Linked DNA regions of Homo sapiens: regions 1, 2 and 4 are each linked to region 3. Evidence: promoter capture Hi-C in 16 types of primary human blood cells and fetal thymus (Javierre and others, 2016). All regions are on one chromosome and are shown on one strand. Each heading gives the region's core, a stretch centred on a gene start or on the middle of the fragment in contact. The rest is flanking DNA. Distances are from core to core; before and after follow the strand shown. Region 1 holds the start of LONRF3 (LON peptidase N-terminal domain and ring finger 3). Region 2 overlaps DOCK11 (dedicator of cytokinesis 11). Region 3 holds the start of IL13RA1 (interleukin 13 receptor subunit alpha 1). Region 4 overlaps DOCK11 (dedicator of cytokinesis 11).

The links. Contacts are between HindIII fragments. The CHiCAGO score rates a contact against its expected background, and 5 or more counts as called.
Region 1: a contact is called between the fragment with the promoter of LONRF3 here and the fragment with the promoter of IL13RA1 in region 3, in 14 of 17 cell types (monocytes, fetal thymus, total CD4 T cells and 11 more). The highest score is 14.4, in monocytes.
Region 2: a contact is called between a fragment that was not itself captured here and the fragment with the promoter of IL13RA1 in region 3, in 4 of 17 cell types (monocytes, naive B cells, neutrophils and 1 more). The highest score is 8.7, in monocytes.
Region 4: a contact is called between a fragment that was not itself captured here and the fragment with the promoter of IL13RA1 in region 3, in 2 of 17 cell types (neutrophils and monocytes). The highest score is 6.9, in neutrophils.

The regions. Positions count from the first base shown.
Region 1 is chrX:118,968,267-118,975,939 of GRCh38, forward strand. LONRF3 (LON peptidase N-terminal domain and ring finger 3) reads left to right here and starts at 6,352. Exons shown (of 11, transcript NM_001031855.3): 1 at 6,352-7,331. The coding sequence starts at 6,515. The HindIII fragment of the contact is 6,269 bases long and covers 2,399-7,673 here.
Region 2 is chrX:118,535,461-118,543,118 of GRCh38, forward strand. It overlaps DOCK11 (dedicator of cytokinesis 11), which reads left to right. Exons shown (of 53, transcript NM_144658.4): 2 at 7,265-7,381; 3 at 7,466-7,555. Among named protein-coding and RNA genes, the nearest start is that of DOCK11, 43 kb to the left of the region's middle. RefSeq lists enhancers at 710-759, 990-1,069, 1,470-1,519. The HindIII fragment of the contact is 737 bases long and covers 2,624-3,360 here.
Region 3 is chrX:118,724,121-118,731,125 of GRCh38, forward strand. IL13RA1 (interleukin 13 receptor subunit alpha 1) reads left to right here and starts at 3,486. Exons shown (of 11, transcript NM_001560.3): 1 at 3,486-3,606. The coding sequence starts at 3,519. RefSeq lists a silencer at 3,095-3,524. The HindIII fragment of the contact is 2,975 bases long and covers 1,875-4,849 here.
Region 4 is chrX:118,519,373-118,527,235 of GRCh38, forward strand. All of the region lies in intron 1 of DOCK11 (dedicator of cytokinesis 11), which reads left to right. Among named protein-coding and RNA genes, the nearest start is that of DOCK11, 27 kb to the left of the region's middle. RefSeq lists an enhancer at 4,808-4,867. The HindIII fragment of the contact is 3,996 bases long and covers 1-3,726 here.

The sequences.
Region 1 (7,673 bases), core at 5,102-7,601, 250 kb after region 3:
AAAGTTAGAACTCCAACCTCCCAGCAACTAACCTTGCCCTGGGCTCTGTCCCACACACCTGGCAGCTCAAGACTTGCTCCTTTTTGCACTCTGGGCGACAGACTCCCTGGCTAACCAAGCGCGTCTAACTTGTCTTGCAGAGAAATTAAGCGAAATCTTCCTTGGGATAGTATCTTGCCATCTTTCTTTTCTTAGTGGTTGACAGGCCAGTATCTCCACTACTGCTGAATGACCTTGTGCACATCATTGAAAGTCTCTGGACTCTCAGTTTACCCTTCAGTAAAATGTAGGGAAGAATTATTAATGCCACTACCAGGGGAACTGAGGATGAGGTAGGGAGGGAAGAATCGGGGTAAACTCCTCCAGTGTATTCTGCATCATCCTTTACATGGGTGAACATCAAATTTAACTGAGCATCACAATCACATGCGTAGCCTTTAAGAATACAAATTCCTGGCTGGGCGCGGTGGCTCACGCCTGTAATCCCAGCACTTTGGGAGGCTGAGGCGGATGGATCACCTGAGGTCAGGAGTTTGAGACCAGCCTGGCCAACATGGCAAAACCTCGTCTCTACTAAAAATACAAAAATTAGCCGGGTGTGGTGGTGCATGCCTGTAATCCCAGCTACTCGGGAGGCTGAGGCAGGAGAATCGCTTGAACCTGGGACACAGAGGTTGCAGTGAGCTGAGATCCTGTCACTGCACTTGACCAGTCCAGCTTACTTGGAATTCTCTTTTTCCTGGGCCACCTATCCCCCAATATAAAGGAAGTCCCCTGGTATTGAGCCGCAGGATGGTCTCACTTCTCTATTTAAATCCTCTCCAACCTAGCTTAAAAGCACCTTTTCCATGAGACTGCATTGCAGTCTGTCCCCTTTGAGGGCTTCCGTGGACACACTGTTCCCTTAATTTTGGCACTTCTTACAGACTGCCTGTTATTTTTTAAATCTTTGTCTCTTGTTTCCTCAGTTAGCTACTAGAGGATAAGGACTGTGTCACATCCTATTATTGCCCTACAAATGCCAACTCCATTAGCACATAGTATATGCTCGATAAATATTTGCTGAACTGATGAAAATCTTGTAGGTGGGAAATCTGAAATAATTTCTTACAATAAGTAATAAGAAGGAGATACGGGAGTTCGAAACCAGCCTGACCAGCATGGAGAAATCTTGTCTCTACTAAAATAATACAAAATCAGCTGGGCGCGGTGGCACATGCTTGTAATCCCAGCTACTCAGGAGGCTGAGGCAGGAGAATCACTTGAATCCAGTAGGCGCAGTTTGCAGTGAGCCAAGATCACGACATTGCACTCCAGCCTGAGCAACAGGAGCGAAACTCTGTCTCAAAAAAAAAAAAAAAGAAGGAGATGTTCTGTGCTCTTTAGCTTTCTGATCATATGAAAAAAAAAATTTTATAAACAAAGAGATATGAGCCCTAGCTTCCAATTTGGCTGTATCAAATTCATTATGACCTGTGGCAAGTCACTTGCCTTCTCTAGTGTTCAGTGGCCTCATTTGTGAAACCAGAGCTGATGTGTAAGCTAACTTTCCTTCCTTCCTTCCTTCCTTTTCTTTCCTTTTTTTTTTTTTTTTTTTTTTTTTGAAACAGAGTCTTGCTTTGTCGCCCAGGCTGGAGTGCAATGGTGCGATCTTGGCTCACTGTAACCTCCACTTCCTGGGTTCAAGCAATTCTCCTGCCTGAGACTCCTCAGTAGCTGGGATTACAGGCACGCGCCACCACTCCCGCTAATTTATTTTTTTAATTCTTAGTAGAGATGGGGGTTCACCATGTTGGTCAGGTTGGTCCTGAACTCCTGGCCTCAAGTGATCCACCCACCTCGGCCTCCCAAAGTTCTGGGATTACAGGCGTGAGCCACCATGCCCGGCTAAACTTTCTTTTAGTTGTGGGTTTTGGCTACTCTGTATAGCAAGGAGCGGTCTTGCTTTCCATATCAATACCATTAATGTCCATGGTTCCTTTTTTTCCCCCTGTAAGGACTGCAGATTTATGGGTCACCCCAGTTTATAAAATGAGAATATCAGATACAGAACAAATGTGTGCTTTGGCCAAGCTTCCAGGCATAGAGTGTGTGCATGTGTATGTGTGTGCGGGGTTGCTTACACCTTACTACAGGTCTCTGGCTTCGAATGGACTCTTTCGTCCCAGAGTTGCTCAGCAGGCCTTTCCAAGTACAGGACTGTCAACCATTTGTTGTTTGTGTGCCCAGTCTCTGCTTTGTGAATGACCACAGTGCATGGCATTCCAACTGTTTCCTCTTGTCCCTCTGCACACTCCTAGGGCCAGAATGTCCACTGGCATGTTCAGTAAGATCTGTTCAAGCACTGTCCTGCTTATGTCACTGGAGGAGATATAAGACACCAGTCCTTGCCCTCTGAAGCTTCTAGCCTACATGGGAAGCCAGTACAAGGATGTGTGTATGTGGGGAAAGATGCACTATCATAAGTGAGGGAGAGCCTGGGAGTTATGTGCTGCTTTTTTTTTTTTTTTTTTTTGACAGAGTCTCTCACTCTGTCGCCCAGACTGGAGTGCAGTGGCGTGATCTTGGCTCACTGCAACCTCTGCTTCCTGGCTTCAAACCGTTCTCCTGCCTCAGACTTCCAAGTAGCTGGGATTACAGGCGTGCACCATGATGCCCTGCTATTTTTTTTTTTTTTTTGTATTTTTAGTAGAGACGGGGTTTCGCCGTGATCAACCCACCTCAGCCTCCCTAGGTGCTGGGATTACAGGCATGAGCCATCACACCCGGCTGCTGCTTTGATGTGTCTCCAGTATCTAGAACAGTCCTTGGTATGTGGAAGATGCCCAACAAATATATGAAAATGTGTGAAAATTGCTATGGTTTTCAAACTTGATATTGTAAGGGACAGCTTTTCTTCAAAGAAATCATACCTGGAGGCTCAGTTATGTGAAACAGATGGATACAATACTGCCCTGCTTGAGGGGAGCTAGGGTCAAAGCCTGTCTGCTTGTCTCCTCTGAGCCCCAAAGAGATTCTTGAGAGTCCAGTTGGAAAACTACTAGTTGAAAATGAGGGGCAGCTCAATCCTTGCTCTCTCTTCTTGGTTAACCTTAGCCACAAGGTGATCCTAGCAAAATAAATGGAGGTTTAAAGAACCTTACACTCCAAAGGGAATATTTGCACCTGAAAAAGATGGTGTTAATCTCCCCCTTCCCCTCATTCCAGGGGGGCTCCAATTAGTAAGAGCAGAGGGAAGGAAATTCTGAGTAGGAGACTTCTGAATTGGTTCAACAATGTCTATCAATGTAATGGTAATATTTGTTTAACTTAAACAAACAAAGAAAGAAAACCACTGTGATAATGTTTTTCAGCATTCAATAGAAACCCACTTGGTGTTGTCCTACAGGCAGTCTTGATTACAATGTAAAACTCCCTGTGGAGTCTGGTCAGTGAGTAGCTGGTACTGCCATTTACACCAGAGTACCTCGCATTATCCAGACTGCTATTCACATTCCTGACCAAGTTCACGGTCAACCTCCTGCACTGGCAGCCAAGAGGGCCTGCCTGGAGAGAGCTTCTCTTCTCCATGCCTGCAGGACTGTGACTCTCTACCTGACCTGGCCCTCTCTTAGCCTTCCTACCATAACAGGGCAAGGGAGGGGAATCAACCCAGGGGATATTCCCTTGTCAAGGTCATCCACGGAGCAAAGCACATCCCAGATTTGCATCTAGGAAACAATTTTGGGTAACAGACATATATATATATATTTTAGATATGTCAAAGGGGTAAAGCTCTTGAATTAAGATGGTTTCATCATTATCTATCTCATGAATCTCTACCTTCCCCAACGACTGTCCTTCCTCACAGATGCCTGAAGGGGCAGGCAGATAATTAGTGCTGGGGACCTCATTTGATAGTAGGGGAAACTGAGAGGTGAAAAGAGCTCCCTTCAGTTAGATAGCAACTCACCAGGAACTCCAGTTTCTCCCCTACTGCTTGGTATGGCCACCTCCTCCACCTCTTAGCCAGTCCTCCGACTTCTACATCTTAAAAATCTAGCTCAGGGGCCAGGCGCGGTGGCTCACACCTGTAATTCCAGCACTTTGGGAGGCTGAGGCGGGCGGATCACCTGAGGTCAGGAGTTCGAGACCAGCCTGACCAACATGGAGAAACCCCGTCTCTACTAAAAATACAAAAAAATTAGCCAGCTGTGGTGGCACGTGCCTGTAATCCCAGCTACTTGGGAGGCTGAGGCAGGAGAATCACTTGAACCTGGGAGGCGGAGGTTGTGGTGAGCTGAGATCGTTCCATTGCACTCCAGCCTGGGCAACAATAGCCAAACTCCATCTCAAAAAAAAAAAAAAAATCTAGCTCAGGTCTGACCCCGACTAAATGGACAATCTTCCATTGATTTCCCATCCCCTCAACCCCGGTTCAAGCCACCATCCACAGCATTTGGACTAGTCATTTGTACTTAAGTAACTGAGTTAGTATCATGAAATTTGGTCTTAGGATCAAAGCCACTCAAGGTTAGAGCTGGAGGGAACCTTGGAGATTAAGAGAAACTAAGGTTTGGAGAACCTACCTAAGGTTTCATAGCAAATATGTGACAAATCCAAGGCTTCAAGCCAAGTTTTCCAATGTGTCCCTCGTGCTTTCCTGACTACATCTGGAGTTTCTCTATTTCTTCTTCTCCTTCTCCTTCTTCTTCATTTTTTTTTTTTTTCGTGTGTGTGTCTTTTTTCCCCTATGTGATGCTTCCTTTCTGCCCTGTGACCCTCTCCCTCTGTCCTGTCTTATTAGAAAGAGGCTCTAGAGCTGGCTGCATAGTACCTGTTCTCTGGGACCTTGGTGTTGATCTAAGACTGGTTTAACTACCTAAAGAGAAGCAGAGACCCGAGGGGGCCTGCCATAACCCAACTCTGAAACATGACTTAATCCCAAGTAAGATCAGCTCTAACATTTGTTCAGAAGCAAAAATGATGGATTCTAAAGTTTGACTTCCCCAAGGTCATCTGGCTAAGAGGTGGCTGCAGCAGGGGGCAACAATAGGTCTTCAGGCCCCTGGGGCGGCAACCTGGCACTGCCCAAGAGCCCGCAGGCTCTGAAGGCCAACTGAGCCAGCGGCAAGCCTAGTCCCTGCCTCCCTGCTTGGAGCAGTGCGACTATACCGTTTTCTGTCTGCTCATTTGTGAGCTTGGTTCCCGTCCTAAATGTGGGGGTTCAAGGCAGACAAAGAGTGTGCAGTTGGCCACCCCGCTCGCCTTCAGGAAGTGTGTAGGACACCGTCGAGGCCCCCTAGCCATTGTAAACCAGGCGCTGAGGCTCGTGCCCAGTTGTACCCTTCCCGCGCAGCGCTCAGGAGCGACAAACCTGGAGGCTATTCGGTCTGCCACTGGGCTGTGCCGGGATTCGCGGACTTTCTCCTGAATAGCGCTCTCAGCTCGCGTCTTCCCCCTGCCACTCTCCCACGCCCCCAGAGTACCCACCGACCCCAGCAGGCCGGGTACATCCCTGCCGCGCCCATCCGGCCAGTGGCTCCAGGGGCCGGCCTGGTGTGTCTCCAGCTGGGCGCCTACCGCCTGCCCCAGCGCTAGTTCTGGCGTTGGGGGTAGAGAGGTAAAGAGGGGAGTTAGCGGGGCATCTCCCTCCCAGGGCTGAGCCGGCAAGCGCATCTTCTCCGCGAGTTCCTCACTGTCCAGCGAGCGCTGCCCAACTTCTGCGCCGGTGGGACCCGCTGCTCTGAGTCACTCTTGGCACAGAACACCAAGCACCCTCAGAAACCGAATTCACCACCTTTGGGAGGCTCCTGGGAGAAGGCAAGGAACCCAGGCGGGGCTCCCAGGGCTCTCGGGCTGGGACTGGGTTGTGTGTGTGTGGGGGGGCTTCACGGATACCCCTCCCAACCTGCTTCCTTTCCCTGACAGCAGCCATCTCCCCCAAGAGGGAGAGTCTTAGGCGTCCCGGAAGACCCTGCGGACTGTGCACCTCGAGGTACCAGCCTCTCCTGGGAGGAGTGGGGGGCCGCTGGTCAGCGGCTGGCAGAGGGGACCTGTTTGCTGGCCCGTTTGGAGGTGGGATGGAGTGGGGTTTGGAGACTGAGAAGCCCAAGAGAAGACACTGAGTTTCTCCCCACCCCACAACCCCACTTCCGAAAAAGAACCAGGTGGTGAGGAGGAATAAGGCGAAGTGTAAACACAAACAACCTCAAAAAGAAGCCAAGAAAAGCGAAGCCCAAAGAAGCAAGAGCAACACTGTTACAAAACTGTCTGGTTTTGTAACAATTTCCCCGCCGCCGGCCAATGAACAGCGTGGCGGCACGTCACGTGGTACCGTTTTATATAACACTTTGCTGAGACAAGACAGTTATTAGGCGGCGCGGGGCGGCCGGCATGGAGCTCCCGGAGGCGCGGCAGGGTCAGGAGCTCGGTGGCATGGCGGCGGTGGCTGCCCCGATTTCCTCCAGCTGCCACTCCTTGCTTCGTGTCCCCGGTCCCTAGACGCCTCGTCTCCTCCCGTGTCCCTCTTCCCATGGAGTCAGTACGGATCGAACAGATGCTGAGCTTGCCCGCTGAGGTCAGCAGCGACAACTTGGAGTCGGCGGAGCGAGGGGCATCAGCGGCCCAAGTAGACATGGGCCCCCACCCAAAGGTGGCTGCAGAGGGCCCCGCACCTCTACCGACGCGGGAGCCAGAGCAAGAGCAGTCTCCGGGGACCTCAACGCCGGAGAGCAAAGTCCTGCTCACGCAGGCAGACGCCTTGGCGTCCCGGGGGCGAATCCGTGAAGCCCTCGAGGTGTATAGACAGCTCTCCGAGCGGCAGCAGCTGGTGGCTGAGCAGCTGGAGCAGCTGGTGCGCTGCCTGGCGGAGAAAGTCCCGCAAGGCGAGGCGCTGGCGCCGGCGCCCCCGGACGAGGGTAGCACTGCAAGCGGCACCGTGGCGGCGGAAGAGACGGGGGCCGCCGCGGCTGCGGCGGCCACCGAGGTGTGGGACGGCTTTAAGTGCCGGAAATGTCATGGGTTTCTATCAGACCCCGTGTCCTTGTCGTGTGGCCACACCTTTTGTAAACTGTGCCTGGAACGTGGGCGGGCCGCCGACCGGCGCTGTGCGCTGTGCGGGGTCAAGCTCTCCGCCTTGATGGTGGCCACTGGGCGGGCGCGTGGAGCCCGGCGGGCTGGGCAGCAGCCGCCGCCGCCGCTGCGAGTCAACGTGGTGCTCAGCGGCCTCCTCGGCAAGTTGTTTCCAGGCCCAGCGCGAGCGTCGCAACTCCGGCACGAGGGCAACCGACTGTACCGCGAGCGCCAGGTGGAGGCGGCACTGCTCAAGTACAACGAGGCAGTTAAGTTGGGTGAGTCCAACGCGCTGCCGGGCCGGGGCTGGGGCTCGGTGGCTACATGAGGGAGCGGGAGAACAAACCCCGCAGCGAGAAGGGATTTGGACCAGGGCAGAAGAGGGGGCGGGGGACCCATGGACTGTGGCGGGGTGGGGGAGGGGTGATTCTGGGGCTGGGTCTCTGAGTTTGTTCTGTTTTCACTGCTTATCTGTGTTTCACTGTGTTTGTGTTGATCTCGGTTGCTTTTTGTCTTTTCCTGCTACTTCTGTTAGCTTTTGTGTTCCTGTCTCTCAGTCCCCGTTCCTGTCTGTGTCTCCTTGCTTCTGGTTCTTTTTCTCCGTCTCTTCGTATCTTTGT
Region 2 (7,658 bases), core at 1,742-4,241, 190 kb before region 3:
TTTGCTGACCGAACCGGTGTTTTTGATCCTGCCTAGGAGACTAAGTAAACCACCCAAAAAGCAGTTAAGTATCCAGGGAATGTTATATATGAGTAAATGCCACAATAGATGGGAAAGACAATAAGGGCTGTTGGGGAGCGAGGAGGGCTATGCTATCATAAGAATCAGGTGAGCTAAGTGTGGGTTGGTAATAAACATGACCCACTGGTCTCATGGAAAGTATGACTTTTCCCTTAGCCGTTTACTTTAAGAAAGGTCAGTGTCCTGAATGCAGTTTGTATTTAGATTCTTATGCCAAGATTTTCCCCAGAAAATAATCTTTATGAAAAGATGTTCATGTCTATTTTGGCAAGTTGGGTTCTGCTAGTTAAAAAGATGCCCCTCCCGCCCCACCACATCACCATTAGATTGTAGTTATGCAAAGCTCCTTCAGTAATTGGAGTTCCTATTGGGGAAGAGACAAAGAGATGAGCTGCTGAAAGATGGTCACATTTGGAACAAACAGGCCATGGTCATAACAAAGTCAAATACTCTTTATTTGAACCTTATGAAGAAATTTCTTACAGGCTGGACACAGTGGCTCATGCCAGCACTTTGGGAGGCTTGATGGGTGGATCACTTGACCTCAGGAGTTTGAGACCAGCCTGGGCAACACGGCAAAACCCCGTCTCTATAAAAAATACAAAAATTAGCCTGATGTGGTGGCACACATGTGTAGTCCCAGCTACTTGGGAGGCTGAGGTGGGAGGATTGCCTGAGCCCAGGGAGGTTGAGGCTGCAGTGAGCTGTGATCAAACTACTACACTCCATCCTGGGCGACAGAGTAAGACCTTGTCTCAAAAAAAAAAAAATCCTTACAGTTATGGTTCCATTATTGACATGCTGTATAGGGTTCCTCTCTAGAAGTCTCTAATCTACAGTGGTGGCATCTCTCACTTCTGTGAATCATAATGCAACTTTTGCTTCTCCTCATATTCACACACCACTCTTGACAGTTACCTAGTCTCTGATCTTACAGGGTTTATGAATAAAACTAGAAGGCAAGATGAAATGATCTGAGACCACATAAATCGATATGATGAAATTCTTCTGATTGATCTAATGGGGAATAGAGGGACTCACACATTTTAGTGTGCAAACACACTTGTACAGTTCCTTTTTTGGAAGAAGATATGGCTATCAAAGGGCATGATAGATGCACAGAAATTACAATAGTCTGTGATCAGCTCTCACATCTTGGGTTTATCTACCTTCCCCACGAGACTGTGAACTTCTCAAGGGCAAGGTCTGTTTTTTTATTCACCTCTGCATTACCAGGGGCTAGCACAGGGCCAGAACCTCAGTAGGAACTCAATAAATGCATCTTTATGCTGAACTCACTTTGTTTTCTGTGCTGCCGGAAATTGCATGCCCCCAGTGGCCATTTTGAGTGCAAAGTGTTATTTTAAGATGCTCTCTAGAGAAAGCACTCTAGGCTCTGCTTACAAATGTCTGAGAGGAAAGGAGAGCCGAATGACTAGGGGATCTGGAGAAATTCCTAAGTGAAGGTCGTGGAGAAATGATGGGAAGGAGAGACTCACCTCTTTTTGAGTGTGCTACTTCTATCCCAAGACTGTTGTTATTTTTCATAAGAAAATGCTCAGATGTCATTGAGGCTGTAGTCTGACTGCAATACTGCAAAAAAGCACTTTTGGGCTAATCATTCTCTTTCTGAAACCAGTAGTTGCCATGTTCCTCCTTGTGCTGAAACTCAGTTTGGAGGATGGGGTGGTGGTAGTGGTGGCGTGGTGGTGCAGGGATGTTTTTGAATTGGCTCTGTGCCCTACTGCTCAGCTTTCTGCCTGCTTTCTGGTATCCCTCCCAGTGTGATAAAGGAGAGATTCTATGATGCCAGTGTTCACTTCAGACTTGCAGAAGAGACATTCTTAGAATTCTTAAGGAGAACTAGTTTCTAAAGTAAAAGATTTACCGGTAAACTAATGACCTTTGGTATGGTATTTAAGCAGAAGTAACCCAGGCTCATTTTGCATTGCTTACAGATAAATATTATGTGATTATTCTTGTGTCTTACACATTTCTAATGATAACATAAATATGCCTGCTAGTCAAATGTGCTTTTGGATACATGAGTGGTTGGATGGTTGAATATATACATTCATGTACATTTTTATGTATTTTAGTATTACAAGCATGGTTTTATATTTATACACATACAGTTACGATGATAAAAGATCAGTCATCCTGTACTGCGAATGTACAGGAACCACCACAAAATTGTAAAGTCTAAGTGGTGATGCTATTAGTGACCCTCAGTGAGGATCCATTGTTTCCTCTCTTTGGACCAAGAAGTGGACTGCAACTGAATCTATTCTGACGAGTTTCCTTTTTTGCTATCTGTCCTTTCCACTTATATTAGAAATAAAATTATCTCAATTTATGGAGCTGTGCATTTCTTCCCATTTGTAGAGTTTGCACATAGAAAGCTCATTGAGATTTGGTCCTTAGTGGCCTGAGTAAGCAACGGAAAAGTGTACTGCATCCCACACCATGGTACCAAAATTGGCATTTTTATTTTACTAGAGATAGAAAAATGCAATTTATTCTCCTTTATGGGATGATATGAAGCTTTCTTTTTCAATAAATGTTTTCAATGAAGAAGATATTTGATTTGAAGAAAAATATGAAGTAAATGATAATACAGATGGTGTGGCAAATATGAGGATTATATGTGAATAAGTTCGGGAAACTAATAGAAACAAGGATTAGGAGTTGGGAGACCTGGGTTTGAATCCTGGTTCAGCTCCTAATGTAGACAGATGAACTTAGGCCTCTGAGCCAGTTTCCTGATGGATAAAGTTGAAATGATGGTATTTTCCTTGTCTACTTGACAAAGCGTTTGGTAACAAACAGAATGCATATGAAAGTGTTTTCTTAAGACTGCAAAGTGACCTTGAAATGAATTAACAAAAAATACTAATATTATTAGCAAGTTATTCAAGAAAACTTAGGAGTCAGTGAATGAAAACTTTTAAGAACAAATCATTTTGTTTTGTTTTGTTTTCCCCATGGTGAAAACTGAGTTGGTTCCAAATTTAGGTTGACGGTTTTCCTGTCACTACTTACGGGAAGAAGACTGAAACATATGCTCACTTCTCTCCAGATTGCATAAATGCCTTCGCCTTTTACTTAGCACTGCTCCGGAACTGTATGGAAGTTGCTATTATTTGAATGTTTAAGGTACCATTTATTGTAACGGGTTTTTGGAGTTATGAAAAAGCACCTTTGCAGGCCAATCAGTGCACACTGGCAGAAAGGATAAATTACAAAGCTGAAAGAAAGACCCTCTTTGAGTGTATTGGAAGCTTTTATGTATAAGTCTAATAATAGAATGAGAAAGCTGAATGAGAAAGTTAGATAAGGGATATGATGGAGACTGCAGGGCAGAACCACCATTAAATCATGATAATTCTATAGGTCAAAAGGTTTTCTTTGTCTCTGATGCCTGCAGAGTTATAACTGAATCCTACTAGAAGGGAAATGCAGGGTTCAGTCCCTTCTCATCTTTCTTCTTGGAGAGATGAATCCTGATTCACAGGCCTAAATCTTCTATTAGGGGAAGCTTTGTGGGACCCAGAGTAGCCACCCTAACTTTTCCGCAATTGAGCTACCCCTGACAAAAAAAGTAGGCGTGAAGACCCAGAATGCTTAGTTTAATCAGTTTTAAATGAAAAGTGAAACTTTGTTTTCTATAACATAAATATATGTCCTTCAAAACATGTGGTAAGCTGTGTTTCATTTTTAGAAGGTATATACTTTTAAATAAATGAGTAATTCAGGAATTGGAGAACATTACGCTAAGTGAAGTATGTCAGGCAAAGAAAGACAAATACTGCATGATCTCACTTATATGTGAAATCTAAAACAATCAAACTCATAGAAGCAGGGTAGAATGGTGGTTACCAGGGGCTGGGGGCAAAGTGGGGGAGATGGTAGTCAATGGTGGGATACAAAGTCTCAGTTAAACAGGAAGAATAAGTTTGGTTTTTTTGAGATCAATAGTATAGCATGCTGAATATGCCTAATAATTGAGTACTGTACATCTTATCACTAAGAATAAATTTCTCATGTTCTCATCACAAGAAATGTTAAATATTTGAGGTGATAGATATAACTAGCTTAATTTCATCATTCTACATTGTATTAAAAATCATAACACCACTTTGTACCCCATAAATTAAAAAAATAAGTGATTCATTTTGACATATTCTTTCCATATTAATTTGGAGCTACATTAGAAAGCTGAAGGAGGGCCAGGCATGGTGGCTCATGCCTGTAATTCCAGTACTTTGGGAGGTCAAGGCGGGGGGATCACCTGAGCTCAGGAGTTCGAGACCAGCCTGGCCAACATGGTGAAACCCTGTCTCTACTAAAAATACAAAGATTAGCTGGGTGTGGTGGCAGGCACCTGTAATCCCACCTACTCGGGAGGCTGAGGCAGGAGAATCGCTTGAACCCAGGAGGTGGAGGTTGCAGTGAGCTGAGATCACGCCATTGCACTCCAGCCTGGGCAACAAGAGCAAAACTCCATCTCAAAAAAAAAAAAAAAAAAAAAAAAAGGAAAAGAAAAGAAAAAAGAAAGCTGAAGGAGGATTTTCTTTTTTTTCTTTTTCAAATATACTTGAAGTAGGTACTTGTAAAATTATTGTACAGAGAAGTTGACAGATTCAACAGGTTAAAACATTGAAATTTGAGGACTGTTTTTGCAATCTGTACTAGGAAAATAGTTGGCACCAAAAGCAAGACTTAGATTATTTTTAGTGCCTCAAGCTTGCTTTCTTAGATAGGACTTATTCATTCAACTTCTCTGAGAAATTGATCTCAGACTGTGAGCGTTAGAGCTGGAAGATGCAGTCAGTTTCCTTTTGAGTCCATGGAAACACGGTAGATATGGCCGAAAGGGGTCAGATTTTTCTGTCAGAAAATCTGAATTTCTCAAATAGGATTTTTTCCTTTTATTTCAACTCATTTTGCAGTAGTATTTGCAGACATGAGAGGGATGATCAACTTGCTTTGATCTTTGTAGACATGGGTCTACAAATCCAAATTTAAGACTTGAAATAAAGCATAAAGGTTAGGATCTTTTAGATTTGTTGAACACTGAGCTCATTGGTCAGAGTAGTTTACTTTAATCTTTCTAAATAATCTTCTACAGGAAACTCTGAGATGCCCTTCCGATATGGAAATTGGGTATAGCTGTGACCTGTTGTGAACCATGTATAAAAACTATTCTCAACTTTTCTATGGATGTAGTGATACTAGAGACTACCTCAAATACTATGTACAAAAATACAAGTATAATCCCGATGCTATTATAATATTAAGTCTTAATATAAATTATATTTGGGGTTTTTATACAGTTTTTATTATAAAATTTTAAGGAAATAATTTCATATGAAACATCATCATTAAAAATTACTACTGTCTGCCCACCTTGGTTTAGAATAGAGTGTTGAGACATGGCTCTGGTTGAATCTGAATATCTCAAAGTTCATCAGCAATTAATGACTGGATGTCTACCGTGTGCCAGGTATTCTAAGTGCTGGGATTAAAGAAGTAAACAAATAAAAGAAAATCCCTGCCCTCAAATAGTCAGAGAGGTGAAATAGATGGTATATCAGATTGTGGTAAGTTCAATGAAGGAAAAAAAATGATAGGAAGGTAAATAGTGGGATCCCATTCCCAGTTCAGTACCATGCACATGAGAATCTTGGTATATTTCTTTCTTTTTCTTTCCGCCCCCCGCTCCCCCGCAGTTGCAGGGGTCAAGGGCTGGTGGTGTGCATGCATGACAGCTGTGGGTGCATGTACAGTAGTGATGGCCAGTGGTGGAAGTCAGGGTCACCTCATATGGCTGTGGGGGTTGAGGCTTATGGCATGCACACCTGTGACAATGAAAACTAGTGATGATAGACATTGAAGTCAGTTGCATGTGTACACACAGCTGCAGGGTCAGCCATGGGTGTGCAGAAGTGGGTGCCGTCTTTGTGTATTTCTGAGGGGAAAAAGAAAAGCAGAGCCTTTGCAGTCACAGACCTGGGTTTGAATTCCAGTTCTGAAGGCAGGCAAGTTACTTAACCTCAGTTAGGTCCAGAGTCTCTGCATCTGTAAAATGGGGATAATGATTCAATCTGTTTCATATTGCTATGAGTGTTACATGAAAAAATGTACAGAAAGCGCTTAGCACAGTGCCTGGCATATAGAAAGGGCTCAGTAAATGTGAACTGTTACCACTACTCTTATTATGTTACATCCTGGCTTTCTTAGCATCACTGACCCTGCTTCTTGTTACTTTAGCTTCAGTCTGGGTCCTACTGTCAATGGCCAGCTCGCCTAGAAGTCCAGCAGGGATCCACTGACTTTGTCACCTTGAACCTAACCCTTTCATAACCTGCCCAAGGGATCAAGCATCTCTAGTATCTATGCCTGCCCTGGATATGCTGGAACTTAGTATGCCCATGGGACAGTGTCCCTGGTACAGAGTAGGAACATGAATGTTGATACTTTCTCCTCCAACGTTGCCCAGAGAGTAGTACAGATGCAGTAAATACCAACAGGCACACTTCCAAGTATGCCACTTTTTGTTTTACTTAAAATTCAATAATTTTTAGAAGGCACACAGATTAAGTAGAATAACACAGTTCTATTTCTCCAGAACTTTTTTTTTTTTTTTGGAGAGACAGGATCTTGCTCTGTTGCCCAGATATAAGTGGCACAATCACGGATCACTACAACCTCAACCTCCCAGGCTCAAGTGATCCTCCTGCCTCAGCCTCCCGAGTGGCTGGGACTACAGGCATGGGCTATCACACCCAGCTAATTTTTGTACTTTTTGTTGAGATGGGGTTTTCTCATGTTGCCCAGGCTGATCTCTAATTCCTGGGCTCAAGTCATCCACCTTCCTCAGCCTCCCAAAGTACTGGGATTACAGGCATGAGCCACCATGCCCAGCCAGAACTCTTTATCTTTAGCAAGAGAATGTCTGTGTGTGTGTGTGTGTGTTTGTGTGTGTGTGTGTGTGTGTGTGTATGTGTTTGTGGTGTGTGTCTAGCTATGAAGACTATTTCTCTTGTGAAACTGTCTCAATTAAGTACTTAAAAGTATCAGTAATCCCTTCCTTTGAGAAGTAATGTATCTTTAGTACATAGAAAGTTATTTAACTCTTGTGAGTTTGATCATAATAACTTTACTTTTGTCTCTTATAAAGGAAAAGGCCAAAGTTGTTGAGCCCCTGGACTATGAGAATGTTATTGCCCAAAGAAAAACCCAGATTTACAGCGACCCCCTCCGAGATCTGCTTATGTTCCCAATGGAAGATATATCTGTGAGTTCACAAACACTTCTTTAAAGAAAAAAACCCCTATTTTTCAAGCCAGTTCTTACAGCAAAAATGTTCTTTGTGTTCTAGATCTCGGTGATAGGTCGTCAACGCAGAACGGTGCAGTCTACTGTACCAGAAGATGCTGAAAAGAGGGCCCAGAGTTTATTTGTTAAAGAGGTAAGAGGCTCAAAGGCCACAGAAGAATATTCTTCATATATTTAAAATATATACAGTATTTATATGTCTTTATGTATTTGTAACCTGTTTATAAATACATAAA
Region 3 (7,005 bases), core at 2,236-4,735:
GGTGGTCGGGGGAGGAATAGATCTGAGAGATGTTTTACCATCTAATCAGTGACTGCAGGACTAGACAGTGGATGGGGAACTGGGGGTACGAGATACAGGAAAGGGAGTTGTCAAGAGTACATACTTTTAGCATTCATCTCTAATTTTGGCCAGGCATGGGGGACAGTGGGTGGGTGGGGACCAAATACAAAAGACAACAAAGAGTATTCTAGCTTAGGATCTCTCTCACCTTTGGCGCTGTTGTCATCTTGAGTAGAGTAAGTCTTTGTTGTGGGGGCGGTCGTGTGCATTGTATTAACAGCAGCATCCCCAGCCTCTACTCACTGCATTCCAGAAGCATGCCCCCGCTTCAGTCATGACAACCAAAAATATCTCTCCATATTGCCGAATGTCCCCTGGGATGTAAAATTGCCCCTGGTTGGGGGCCACTGATCCAGAATCGGGAGGGAAATTCCCTGTTTTCAACTTCTCCTTTTTCTTTGTTTTGCAGTGGTGTGAGGTTTTGCTTAGAGGACTCTTTGTGAGATTTTTGTCTAAGGGACCAGCACTTTTAGCTAAGCCCTTGGAATATGCTGGTGTCTGTGTCCCTTTTGGACTCAGGAAGGTGTCTCTAAATGGATGGAAGGACACCTGACTTTGGAAAGAGGGACATCATTCTTTCCTGCCAGACATTTTCTTGCATATGCCCTTTTCAGCCTCCAGTTACAGAAATGGACGAAGACTTAGTGAGAAGGGCAAAGGTCAAAACAGTTGAGTGGAGTGGCCTAGGTACACAGGGCAGCGCAGAACTCCAGCCACCCCGGGCCAAAGTGAAAGAAAGGCCACTGGTAGTCTCGCACCCAAGTCATCAGGACTCTAAGGGTTAAACTTGATGTTGACTCATCATGATTTTGATTTACACAAAGCCAAACTGAAAGCTCCTTGTCTACTGCAGTTCCTGGAAAGCCTTCTATCTGTCTTCATTCTTCCTGCAGACCAGGGCAGTGGCCTGATTCAATCCAAGACGCTCTTCGAATCACACTACACGGAGATTACAAATACAAGTTTTATGTTGAAGAAACAGCATTCCTGACTCTTTCCACCCCCTTCCAAAAATTTGAAAAATCGTTGCATGATGTTCAGGGTCGGGAAGAAAGGAAAGTAACAATATAGTCTTAAGGCCAGCAGGCCGGAACTATCTTGGTGAAAAGAAATCAGGTCTCTCCCCTCTCCACACTGCCGTTTGTTTTTTTTCCTCACGATGTTCAGATTCTCAGGGCTTTTCTGGAAGCTCATGACAAGCTGCAATCCCTATTTTTCTAATCATTTGCTACCATTACTGTTTTATTAAGCGCTTGGTCAATCTATGCCAAGCAGTGCCCATGATGGCACTCAGCCAGTCCCCAGGGGCTCCTGTTCCAACTAAAGACTCCTTAAAAGGCAGATGACATAACCATTTTGGAAACGTTATTATAAACTTATTGTATAATGTTTATAGCAAATGTCAACAAGTGTATATGTCCGTGGTGGTGGAGGAAAGGCCTTGGGATACACAGTGGCTGACCTATTTGTGGGAGGGATTTAGAAATAATGATACTATCTCTCAGTTCTACAGGCCTTGATACTTTACAAACTGTTTTCATAAACATTATTTTGTTCGATAACACATGCAAGCCAGGATTTATTTTTTTTTTTTTTGAGAACGGGGTCTCACTCTGTTACAGACCCAGGCTGGTTTTGAACTCCTGGGCTCAGGTGATCCTTCCACCTCAGCCTCCAGAATAGCTGGGATTACAGGTGCATGCCACCATGCCTGGATTCTGGAATTTATTCTGAACCGTTAGCCAAAAGAATCAACATCCTGAGATTCAGCACAGGCAGGCCCTCCTCCTGGAAGCTTCCCTTGCTCCTTCCCTCCCAAAAGGTACCCTTTTTGTATCCCATAATTCCTTGTTCTTGCCCTTATCATTGCCCCTCAGACTGACTGCAGCTTTCTGTTAGCAGAGCTTGCTTTTGGTGAGTGTCTTCAACAGTTCCTGGAACAATTTCATAAATATTTATTGAGTTTGAGAGCCTTAATTCCAAGAGTGGAACCTTTGTTGTGAATAGGTTAAACAACCCTGTGCCCTTTGGGTGGGGTCTAGACTAGGTATATTATCAGCATTTTTATTGCTATACTTTTTGTAACTGTTTTCAGGTATATGCATTGGCTTAATTCGGCCAAAATACACCTCATTATGGGTCTCATCATCCACCTAGACATGATTCTTTTTTGGGAGAAGGTGATAGAATAATGTCCCCCTCCCATGATTCCATATCGTGATCCCCAACACCTGTGAATATGTTAACTTACATAGCAAAAATGACTTTTCAGTTATGATTAAATCAAGGATTTTGAGATGGGGAGATTATTATGAATTATCTGGTGGACCTAATCTAATCACAAGGGTATTTATAAGGGAAAAGGGGAAGTAAGAGGGTCAGAGTCAGATACGACAAGGGAAGCAGAGGTCTGAGTAGTTCCGCAACAAGCCAAGGAATGTGGGTAGCCTCTAGAAGCTGGAAAAGTCAAAGACACAGATTCTCCCCTAGAATATCCAGAAGGAATACATCTCTGCCCACACCTTGATTTAAGCTCAGTGTCACTTCTGACCTCCAGAACTGTAATAAAATAAAACTGTTAAATCACTAAATTTGTGGTCATTTTTGACAGCAGCAACAGGAAACGCCTAAGGACTCTTGTTTTCCTTCCTCCCAGCCTCACTGACCCTCATAGGCGCCCAAGTATCAATGTGTATTCTTCCGATTCACCTCCCATCCCTTTGAAAAATATGTAGAAAGTTTGTCGTGTGCTTTAAAAAATGCACGTATGGTATCCTCCCTCATGTTTGGAATGTTCCTTTTAAAATCAACATTATGTATTGCCAGCTTTCAAATATGCCCTTTGTCCTTTTCACAAAGCACAGTACTGCCAGTGTCCCCAACTCCACCCAGTGAAGTAGGGCTGGTATTACTAACCCTGGAGTCAGCGCTAGCAAACAAGGGCTCAGAGGTCAAGGGCTGGAAGCCAGGTCTCCAGACTCCCAGGCCAAGGCTCTTTTCCGCAGATGACTCTGTCCTGGTGTCCAGCAGGGCACAGCCCCTAGCACCTCCGAGGCCCCGCAAGTGTGCTGGCAGCGGCGACGCCGGCTCCGCCACGCGGAGGGAGGAGGCCCAGGCAGCGCCCGGAGTGGGCGGCGACGTGGTGGAAGAAGTTTTGTTCGGTCAGAGACCGGACGCGGGAGCTGCGGGTGGGCCAGGTGTCCAGCCTTGGGAGCCGTAGGAGCCGCCAGAGCCGCCAGAGCCGCCGGCGCCCCGCCCCGCCTCCTCCGGCCGCTCTCGCCGGCTCAGGTTACCTGAGGCCGGTGGGCGGGGCGGCCCTTCCCGTCTGCGCCGGCCCCCAGCCTCCAGGGCGGCGGAGCCGGGAAGTGGAAGAGGGAGCGAAGGAGGCGGGGACTGCCAAGGCTCCAGCCCGGCCGGGCTCCGAGGCGAGAGGCTGCATGGAGTGGCCGGCGCGGCTCTGCGGGCTGTGGGCGCTGCTGCTCTGCGCCGGCGGCGGGGGCGGGGGCGGGGGCGCCGCGCCTACGGGTGAGTGCGACCCTCGGGGCCCGAGGGGCGGCCGGAGGGCTGAGGGCGGTGAGGGTCACGGCTGAAAGGCCCCGGAGGTCAACGCCGGGCGGAGGGCCGAAGCTGGGGTGGGTGCTGGGGGCTGCCCTCGCGAGGCCCCGCGCTCGGCGGCTGCGGCTTCCCGCGCGGGATCTCTGGGGCCCGGTACTGGGGCCGGTTCGAGGTGGGACCCGGGAGCTGCGGGGTTTTCCCGAACTCCGGGTGCGGCGGAGGTGGCGGCAGCGAAGTAAGAGGGCTGCGACTTGTAGTGGGAAGAGCCCAGGAGGCTGGCGTCCAGGCGTGCGGGGGCGGGGGGCCCGAAACATGCCCACGGCGTCAGAGGGCCGTGGGTCAGCGCCCGGAATGTCGCCTGTGAGCCCGGGAGGAAATGAGGCGCCAGAGCCGGCGGGGACCACGACCGAAGTCCAGGCGAGCTGAGAACGCGCCGGGGCTCTTTGCCCGAGGCCGCGCCAATCCTCACTGTCTAAGGGTGGCTCTTGCGAGTGGAAGTTGAAGGGAACCTCTAAACATCTCAGTCCTTGTTGAAAAAGGACGTGACGCTCATGACCTCCTCTGGCGTCGAAGAAATCCTTTGGGAAATCCAGAATAGCATCCCGGCAGATGCTCCCCCCACCCCACTCTCTTTAATAAACCTTATATTTTAGGGTAATTGTAGATTTATGGAAAAGTTGCAAAGATACTTCAGAGAGTTGTGTATATCCCTCACCCTGTTTGGTAACTTCTAGTTAATCAACCTGGCAGTTGTGAAAAATTGGGAGTTAATGACTTCCTTAGGAGCAGCTCCTGGAAGGAATGGCCTTCTGGACGTTTTTGGTGACAATGAAAGCCCCAAACTGTATAGGTTTTATTATCACATTGACACAAACACTTATATATGCTTATTGCATTTTTACCAATGTGCTTTGAAATCCAAGTTGAAATGTTGATTAGGAAACCTTAATGCCCTCTATGGATTCAGTCAATAAAATACATGCTGCCAGGCAGTGTTTAGGGGCTGAGGATGCAGCAGTGAGCAAAACAGATGAGGTGCCTGCCCTCAGACATATCGGGGGGTGGGGGTAAAATATATGATATGTCTGAGGGTGTTAAGTAGAGAAAAACAGAGCAGGTGGGAAGGGGTTTGCCATTGTAAAAAGGGTGGATCGAGAAGAAAACAAATGTTGCTGAAAGGTGGCATTTGAGTAGAGACCTGAGGGAGACTTGAAGCTTGTCAGTCAATAATTATTCAGGTGTCTGCCTTATTTAGTACTGAGTCAGGCCCTCTAGGTTGACTTAGAACCTGAGAGTGTATAGCAAAATTCTTGCCCCAAAAGGGCCTCTAGTTTAGTTGGGTACACCTGATTTCCGTAATCATATGGGGACATTGCAGTCCAGAGAAGGGAAGGAACTTGTCTAAAGTTACCCGTCTCATTAGTCTCCTGATTTTCACAGTGCCACTCCAGCACCCTCCCTCCTACAGACTCACTCCCACACACACCTGAAACAACAGCTGGCCATCTAGAGAATACTGGCAACTCCCAACTTCATCAGTCCTGTCACAATGGTTTGTCGTTAGCTTGCTTATTTAGAAAACAAACTTCTTTCCCCATTAAAAGTATTGATAGAATTGCATTGAGGTATGGTGGGAAAAAATTAGATGTTTCCAGTGAGACTTGAGTTTTAGTGGTTCTGATATTTACCACCTGTGGGACTCTGGGCTGGTCATTTCCTCTCTTTTGTGCTGCAGTTAGTTTTCTCATCTGTGAAATGAGGAGGTTGAACTGCATAAATTCTAAGAGCTCCTCCAGCTCTAATCCTCAGAGTGTTTATAAAAGTGATTAGATTACTAGCTTAGTTTAACCTGTCCCACTCAATGGCCCACATTGTGGCATGTCTTAATTATAACTAGCATGTATATAGCATTTATGCCCAGCAGTTTTCTAGCTGCTTTACTTGTACTATTTCATTTAATCTTTACCAATAATATAACTTGTAGGTGCTGTTATTAGTCCCATTTTGTACACGAAAAAGTTGAGGCACAGTGCGACCAAGACCCTTGCCCAAATTCGCATACCTGGCAAAGTGGAAGAGCTAGGTTTCCAACCCTGGCAGCCTGATTCCAGAGGCCATGCCCTTAACCACTGTACTCATTGCTTCTGCCCAGCAGAAAAGACGAGAGTCCTTAGCTGGACACCTCCCAGGGTAGCAGGGCAGGACGGCTTGGGACCCACGAAAGTATGTGCAAGCCATTTGTTAAGAAGCTAATGATACTATATTAGGCCGGGTGCAGTGGCTCATGCCTGTAATCCCAGCACTTTAGGAGACTGAGGCAGATGGATCACTTGAGGCCAGGAGTTTGAGCCTGGCCAACATGGCAAAACCCCGTCTACTAAAAATACAAAAATTAGCCGAGTGTGGGATTACATGCCTGTAATCCCAGCTACTCAGGAAGCTGAGGCATGAGACTCATTTGATCCTGGGAGGCAGAGGTTGCAGTGAGGGAAGATCAGGCCACTGCACTTCAGCCTGGGCGACAGAGCAAGACTGTCTCAAAACAAAAAAAGAAGCGAATGATACTACATTGGAGACTGGCTTTATAGTGGCTGGGCTGTGTGGTCCAAACAACTAGTACTATAGGCATTCAAAAGAGAAAAAGCTGACGGTTGGTAGTGTTATGGAAGAGGTAAAACTTGAGCTAGATCTTCTGGATGACTGGGATTTGAGTAGGTGGAGAATTTATTCCAGGTGGGGGCAATAGCAGGAGCAGAGACCCAGAAATGAGGGCAAGAGTGCTCCTTTGTGGTCAAGAAGGAACCTGGCTTGGCAGGAGAGTGCATTGGTAAAGTCAATCCAGGCAGAATAGCTTGATTTGCCCTTGAAAGCTCTGAGTCCGGCACAGCATGGGAAAAATAACACAGAAGGAGGAAGCAAGCAGGGAGACTTCACTGGGTAGGGGAGCCCCTGGAGTGTGAAGCTACATAAGAATCTATGGTTGCAGGTCTCCACTAGAAAAATGTGCTGCGAACCCTTCCTGTCCAGGACCATGACTTACTGGTATCTTCCCACCTGGTGGGGCACAACAGAGCATATTTGCATGATTGGGGTAACTAAGAAAGATGTTGGAAGAAAAAAACGAACAGGAGTTGATGCCTGAGTGGATGTAAGGGAAGGGACAGATGACTCATATATGACTCTTGTGATTTCCTTAACTTTTCCCAAAATGTGCATGCCTCTGCTAGCTGCTGTGATTGGACAGGCGAGAGCAAAAGCTATAAGCTAAGCAAAATGCCTTCTTATGAAATAGTAGATTGTGTTAACTCTTAATTTAAATAGGATGTTGTGCTAGATGACTGTACAGACTTGGGATTTGAGGTTTAGATA
Region 4 (7,863 bases), core at 479-2,978, 210 kb before region 3:
CCCCATCTCTACTAAAAATACAAAAAAATTAGCCAGGCGTGGTGGCACACACCTGTAATCCCAGCTACTCGGGTGGTGGAGGCAGGAGAAATGCTTGAACCTGGGAGGTGGAGGTTGCAGTGAACCACTGCACTCCAGCCTGTGCAACAGAGCTTGACTCTGTCTCAAAACAGAAAAGAAATTTTAAGGTCTGCTCTTCACTGTGTGACCCTGGAGGCAAGGCGCTGATGAAATGAGTATGTGAACCACCAAAATCATGGTGAAGAGGTACCTGCTAACCAAATTCAGACTTTGGAGCAGCTGTGTTTCCTCAATGTGGCCCATATGTAAATCAAATTTGGGCAAATCACGTCATTTCACATACACTTGGGGAATCTGATTTTTGAATGAACTTTATTGGAATCCTTTGGAAAAGCAAAGCATAATTTTGTAATGCAAGTAACCATCCACTAATTTATATTTTTTTAAGGCAGGGTTTTGTGAGGTGGGATTTCAGTTTTTGTAACACACTGTCACTCCTCTGCCATTTAAAATCAGATTATACCTGGGAGAGAAGGATAACTCTGGGAAGTTGCATTAACTCCTTCAGACCTGAAGAAGGCATTTAGTCAATTATTGTTTCTGGGAACTAAATAATACCCTTGTCACTCAAAAAATTTAAAATAGCCTTTGTAAGTGGCTCCTCAGTCTCTAAGAGAACATGACTCATTCTTTCTTTGTAACTTGAAAGAAATCCAAGTGTCAGAAGACACTGGGAAATGGACTTAAGTTACACTTCTAAACATCAGTACTAGAGATCTTAAATATTAGGAAACCAATATGATATTGGTTTAAAGTTGATGGTTGGAGCCACTGTATTAGGATGAAAGGGCAAGGGATTGACTGGCAGTGCTTTCTAGAATATTCCTTGGGGAAATTCTTGCTGGCAGCATTAAGGCTCCTGAGCTCTGGCTGTACTCTGTGTACCATAGGCTGTCCTGTTCTTTTGTCCAGAAAGCCCACTCCCTGCTTTTCTAACTGCCTCATGGTTACACATGGCCTCATAATGTTTCTTCTGCCAGCTTAATTTATGGTTGCTTTCCCCTCAAGCAGCCTTTGGATCCATCTTCTGCATATAACCAGTGAAAAGAAACGGAGTATATTAGAAGATGCCTTGCATTAGTGCTGGGAGATGGATTGCATTCCTGTACTTCTTAAAACCCATGTCCTTGATAATACAAGATGGAGCTGTGGAGGGTGAGGTTCTCCATGTCTGGGTTCGCCTTTGCCTTTCATTGACCTCGGTGGCTGCCAGTCAATGGAAAAATATGATCAGGGTTCACCCTATGGAATCATTGCTTAATATCATAGATGACTCATTGGAATTAGTGTTGTTAGAAAATCACTTCCAGATGTGGAGCAGAAACTTTTCCAAAAGAGAGAAATACACTCTGGAAAACTGGGTTTTATTATTTTTTTAAATGATCTTAGGGCCAGAATTAAATCTGCTTGTGCGTGGTTAGTCAACATATATTTGGAGTTCTAAGTAGTACAATCCTGTTCACTTCCTTTAGACTGACATCCACATAAGTGGGGGCTGCCTTTAGCCTGCTTCCTTATCCTCTGTCAACTTCTGCCCTCTCCACATCTCCCATCTTCTCACAGTGATGAATGGCTTGGAAGCCTTATCTACTCCCTCAGGTTCCGGTCTCTCATTCCTTATCATTACCAGCAAAATTTATTGAGCATTCCTAGATACTGTGAAGGATGGAAGAAACATCTAGTTGGAAAGCAATAGAAGTTTTGGTCATATAGCTAAGTGACTGAGAATGAGCTCTGGTGTCCACTTCTGAGTTGAAATGCCACTTTCTGGCTGTGGAATATTGGGAAACTTACTCAACCTTTTTAAGTCCCAGTTTCTTTGTTTATAAAATAGGAGTGATGGTGATAATCATACCTACCGCATAAGGTAAGCATGAGGCCTAAAGGGATAATCCATGGTCAACCCTTTGCATAGGCTAAGTGTTAGCTATTATTATTCATCAATTCACCTCCGTGTGTAGTTTTTGTATGAAGGGGGAACATGAACCATTAGTTCTAGACTGACACTCTCCAAAAAGCAACCACAGTGTTTGAATTTTGGAATTCTCTTTAAGTTTATTTCACTGCAGCAGAGAATTCACTGGCTTCTCATATTCACTACATTTTTAGTTGTGCCCTGTTAAAAGAGGGAATGTGTTGTCATCTCCTTGGAAGCACCACATGACAGACTTTGTAGTTCACGCAATAGTCAGAAGGAAAGTATTTGTAAATAGCATACCCTGGAGCTCTTGCAAAAGCCACGTCTATTCTAATAAGGTGTTTTTGGTAAATGAAATCTTATGTTTTCCATCCTACTTATTTTTCACAACGTAACCTATTATCACATTGTATTTGAGTAGTTTTCTATTGAATATGTATTCTCCCCTCCCTCCATCTCAAATGTAACATATCAATAAGTGTGTTTCTATACTAGAATGTGGTAAAAAAAACATTTCTAAAACTTGAAAACTGCACTAGAAGAAGAAAATATCATAACCATTCCTATTACATAGAGATTTACATTAATATCTTTACTCTTTAAAGCATTGAAAATGTTTGGGAATTCACAAAACTGCTGCAGAATCTGCTGTAGTGGTTAAGAGCATGCACTTGGCCAGGCTCATTCCTGTAATCCCAGCACTTGGGGAGGCTGAGGCAGGCAGATCACTTGAGGCCAGGAGTTTGAGAACAGCCCTGCCAACAAAGCAAAACCCCGTCTCTACTAAAAATACAAAAATTTAGCTGGGTGTGGTGGCGGGCACCTGTAGTCCCAGCTACTCAGGAAGCTGAGGCAGGAGAATTGCTTGAACCCAGGGGGCGGAGGTTGCAATGAGTGATATTGCACCACTGCACTCCAGCCTGGGGTCAGAGTGAGACTTTGTCTAAAAAAAAAAAGCATGCACTCCAGAGTTAAATAGAGCCTGGCTTTGAATCCTGACTATACTGGTTTTCTGTTGCTGCATAGCAAATTACCACATACTTAGCAGCTTAAAATAACACACTTATTATTTCACAGTCAGAAGTGTAGGCATGGCTCAGCTGGATTCTCTGCTCAGGGTTTTACAGGTGTTGGCAGGACTGCATTCTTATCCAGAAGCTCAGAGCTTTTCCAAGCTCATTCAAGATAGCACAATTTGGTTCCTTGAAGTAGTTGAAATGGTCCCATTCAGCTGGGGGTTGCTGTCACCTCCTAGAGGACATCCTCAGGTCCTGGACAGATAGGCCTCTCATCATATGGCAGTTTACTTCTTTAAATCCAGCAGGTGTATCTCTCTCTTCAGGATGGGCCCAGTTCCTCTTCTAGAGATCACTTGATTAGGTCGGGCCCACCTGGAATCCTCTCTGTTTTGATTAACTCACAGTCAGTTGATTCCTGACCTAATCAGGGTAGGGATATCTCTCAATATTCACAGGTCCCGCTTACATTCAAGAGGAGAATTAAACAGGGTGAGTAGACCAGGAGGCAAGAATTCTAGGGGCATCTCAGAATTTGGCGTACTACGCTGACTCTATTTGCTCACTTGGGCAAGTTTCTGACCTCTCTTAATCTGTTTTCCCATTGATAAAATGTGAGTAGTGATAGTATTCTCTACCTCATACAGTCATTGCTAAAATTAAATGAGGTAACGCATGTAATGCATTTCGCATAGTACCTGGTGCTTAGCAAGCTTTCAATAAATGTTAGAAGCATAATAGAGAAGAGTTACATTTCTTCCTCCTGTCCTACATTTTCTTTCATTTCCCCACCCTCATAATGAAATGGCTTTGAGGGTAGGACATATGGTCACATGCTAAAGAAGTTGAGTTTTTGCCCTTAGGATTTGAATTAAATACAAAAAAGAACTTACTGAGCATAAAGGTTGTTTAACATTGAAATTTCTAAGCCATTTGTATGTCTAGGTGGAGACCTTTCTAGAAATATCCTTCTCATTGGATTCTTGGTTAAATGAATGCATGTGCAGCAGGCAGTTCATGGGGTTTTAGGTGTGCTTCCTAGGTAAGAAGATTTTAGGTTATTTACTCTGCTTATGAAAAGACAGTTTGGTAGGTTGGTGATCTGTAATTGTCAATACCTTTCAAAAACAAATCAGTACTTTGTAGAGCGAGAAATTTCAGTTTACAGGACCTGCACTGTGCACTGTGTTTCTCACGTTTAGTAAGGATATTCAACAGTTCAGCCTCACGATAGTCCTGAAATTTGGACTGAGTTTATTCACATAAGCTACTGAGACACAGCCATTTCTAGAGGATTTGAGTATAGTTCCGGGGCTATTCCTAGAAGAAAATGAATATGTATTGCTTTTTCTCATTGCCTGTGTAAATTGATCATACTCAATAATACTTAGAAAACAAACTCCCATGTGACAAATAGTTGGTTCGAAGGCCCATTTTGCAGGGGGGACTGAAGAGAAAGGAAATAAGGGGCAGAGAGACAAGAAGGGGAGTTTGATCCTCCGAGATGGAACTGAACTTGGGTGTCACTTTTCACAATAATTACTCAAGCATTCCTCTCCATTCAGTAGTGACAAATCTGCATGTTTGTCTTCTATGTGAGAAGTTTGGAAGTTTGAGTGTGTAGTTAAGAACCAGCCAGAAACAGAGAGCTGGTAGGGCTGAGGAATCGTATAAGCCTGTAAGATCTATGTCCTCCCCACCCTGCCTGTTTGCCCTTGCTGGGCTCACTACCACACCCAGATGAGTTTCCTTTCTGTGACTGTCATTAGTACACAAGTGCCCCACCGCATTAGCTGCCTAAAAAGGAGCCAAGTTGGGGGACGATTGATGAGTTTGTGACCTCATTGAGAATACCTCAGTTCTTGTTCCTTCACCCACAGAAGGGTAAAAAGGAGGTATTAGGCGTACCTTCTCCATCCATATTTCAGGCTGTCTGTTTGCTCCCTAAAAATTCAACCCATACCTTCTTTAAAAAATAAAGTTGATTACATTAACTTTATTTGTCGGTGTCCTCTGATTTTTTTCTCAAATCAGAGGACACTAACAGGAGAGTAAAAAGGCAACCCACAGAATGGGCAAAAGTATTTGTAAAGCATATATCTGATAAGAGATTAATGTCCAGAATAGATAAAGAACTCCTATAATGCAACAACAACAACAAACTTGATTTAAGTCAGGCAAAGGACTTAAATAGACATTTCTTTGAAGATGATAAACAAATGGCCAATAAGCACGGGAAAAGATACTCAAAACCATTAGTCATCAGGGAAATACAAATGAAAACCACAACGAGATACCACCTCACACCTGTTCTGATGGTTGTTATTCAAAAAACTGGAAAATAAGTGTTGAGGAACACGGGCGGGGCGGACCTGGAACCCTTGTGCATTGCTGGTGGGTAATGTAAAATGGTACAACCACTATGGAAAACAGTTAAGTGGTTCCTCAGAAAGTTAAATATAGAATTACCATATAATAGACTGGGAGAGGTGGCTCACACCTGTAATGCCAGCATTTTGGGAGAGGCAGGCAGATCACATGAGGTCAGGAGTTTGAGACAAGCCTGGCCAACATGGTAAAACCCCATCTCTACTAAAAAATATGAAAATTAGCTGGGCGTGGTGGCGTGTGCCTGTAATCTCAGCTACTCAGGAGGCTGAGGCAGGAGAATCACTTGAACCCAGGAGGCGGAGGTTGCAGTGAGCCAAAATAGCGCCACTGCACTCCAGTCTGGGTGACAGAGCGAGACTCTGTCTCAAAAAAAAAAAAAAGTATTACCATATAACCCAGCAATTCTATTAGGTGGAATTGGGAAATTCTCCCCAAAAGAATTGAAGGAAGGGACTCAGATACTTGTTTCACACCACTGTTCATAGCAGCATTGTTCACAATTGTCAAAAGGTGGAAACAGCCCAGTGTCCCTCAGCAGATGACCAATGGAATATTATTCAGCCTTAAAAAGGAAGGAAATTATGACACATGCTACAATATGCATGAAGCTTGAGGACATTATACTAAGTGAAAGAAGCCAGTCACAGAAAGACAAATTTTATATGATTCCACATATATGAGGTACCTAGAATAGGCAAGTACATAGAGACAGAAAATAGAATAAAGGTTACCAGGGATGGGCGGGGGCGGTGTGGAGGAAGTGCAGAGTTGAATGCGTACAGAGTTTCTCTTTGGGATGATGAGGAAGTTTGGAAATGGGTAATGATGATGATTGCAGAGTAATGTGAATATAGTTAATGCCAAATGCAGACACTTATATAGTATATACTTAACGAAGTATATACTTTAAAATAGTTAAAATGGTAAATTTTATGTATATTTTTACCACAATAACTAAAAAAACCAAATTAAGTTGATTGTATGTTTTGGATTATACCAGCGGTACTTGTTTGTGCTAGAAAACTCTGGGGGAAAACAGAAAAGGAAAAAAAAAGAAAAAGAACGTAACACCTCCATTTGGAATACATAAATCTTTAATGTTTTGATTTGACCATGTTTCTTTTTAACTACCCTCCCCTTGTCAGCAAAAATGACAATCACTTTCTACCACTTCCCGTATAGGTGGCAAAATAGTGCCTACTTATTCCCTGTGAAATTTCCATGTCTTAATTCACAAACAGAAAAGAAAGAAGAAAGACCTGAGCAGTGAAAAACATCGCTTCCCTGCTGGGCATTCTGTTGTAAACCTATCCTTAGCAAGGCGGTAGTTCCCAGGCCATGACATCTTGGGAGCAGCTACCAAGACAAGCACAAGGACCTGGGGTCAGCAGGTCTGGCTTCCAGCTCCAGTCGTATGAAAGATATGAGCCAGGGCTTTCAAGTCTTCAGTCATTCTCACATCCCTTACTAAGCCACAGAGCAACATCACATTTAGCCATATTGAATCAAGTCCTCCTCATACCGAGCATGGCTCTTGCTTCAGAGATGTGAAGGCTGTTATCTCTTGTTTCCTCTCTCAGCTAGCTGTTCTGTCAATGGTCTGTCCCCAGGGCCCTTCAAAAGGAACTCTGGCCAAGGGTCCCTGAGGGAGAGAAAGATGCCAGAGTTTTACAAGGGCTGCCTTTGCCTGTTTGTCCGATGACTACTTGCTTACAGTCTGAACGTGAGTGCTCTCAGGTTGTGGTGTTTATGAGAAAGCAGGGGCCAGCCCCTGACCTGGCCAGAGACTGTAGTTTCTACAGTAGTGCCAGTACATTCCTGGGTTCTGGGAAACTTTACTGAGCTAGGCCCAGATTGCTCCCTAAGAGAAACCTCCCAAGGGTCAGAGGAAAGAGGAAAAGGCTCATTGATTTAACAGAGGACAGAGTGACTGATAGAGAAAACCATTAAACATTTCAATTGGCTTTTCCTTGAATTTTAGAAAGGGACTTATTTGTTTTCCCACTGGAAAATGGGATATTATTTAAATATGGGATGAAAATTACATTGGAAGGACTGGACTTAAATGGCCAGAAGTCCTTCATTGATCCAAGCAATAATCCTGTTTTGCCAGAATTCTCTCAATAGTGAAATATGTAAGCAGCAGTGAAGTAATTACACCAATCTTCCTCCTTAAACACGATGGGACTCCAAAAACATATAAGTGATGTCCTTTGAATTGTCACCCACCACAGGAGGCCACATAATCACTCCCTAATGTTTTCATTGCTCTAAAACCCAGGAATTTCCATCTGTAAGTTTATGATTCGTGTGAGATACCCAGGGCCTTTACTATATAGTTGTATTTCATGTACTGTATATACTTTTATCATTAGATGAGTGTCTGCATTTTGGTAGTAAAGGAAAACTACCATTTAAACAAAACAACTTCTACTGGTTTTATTGTGTCTCTCCAAG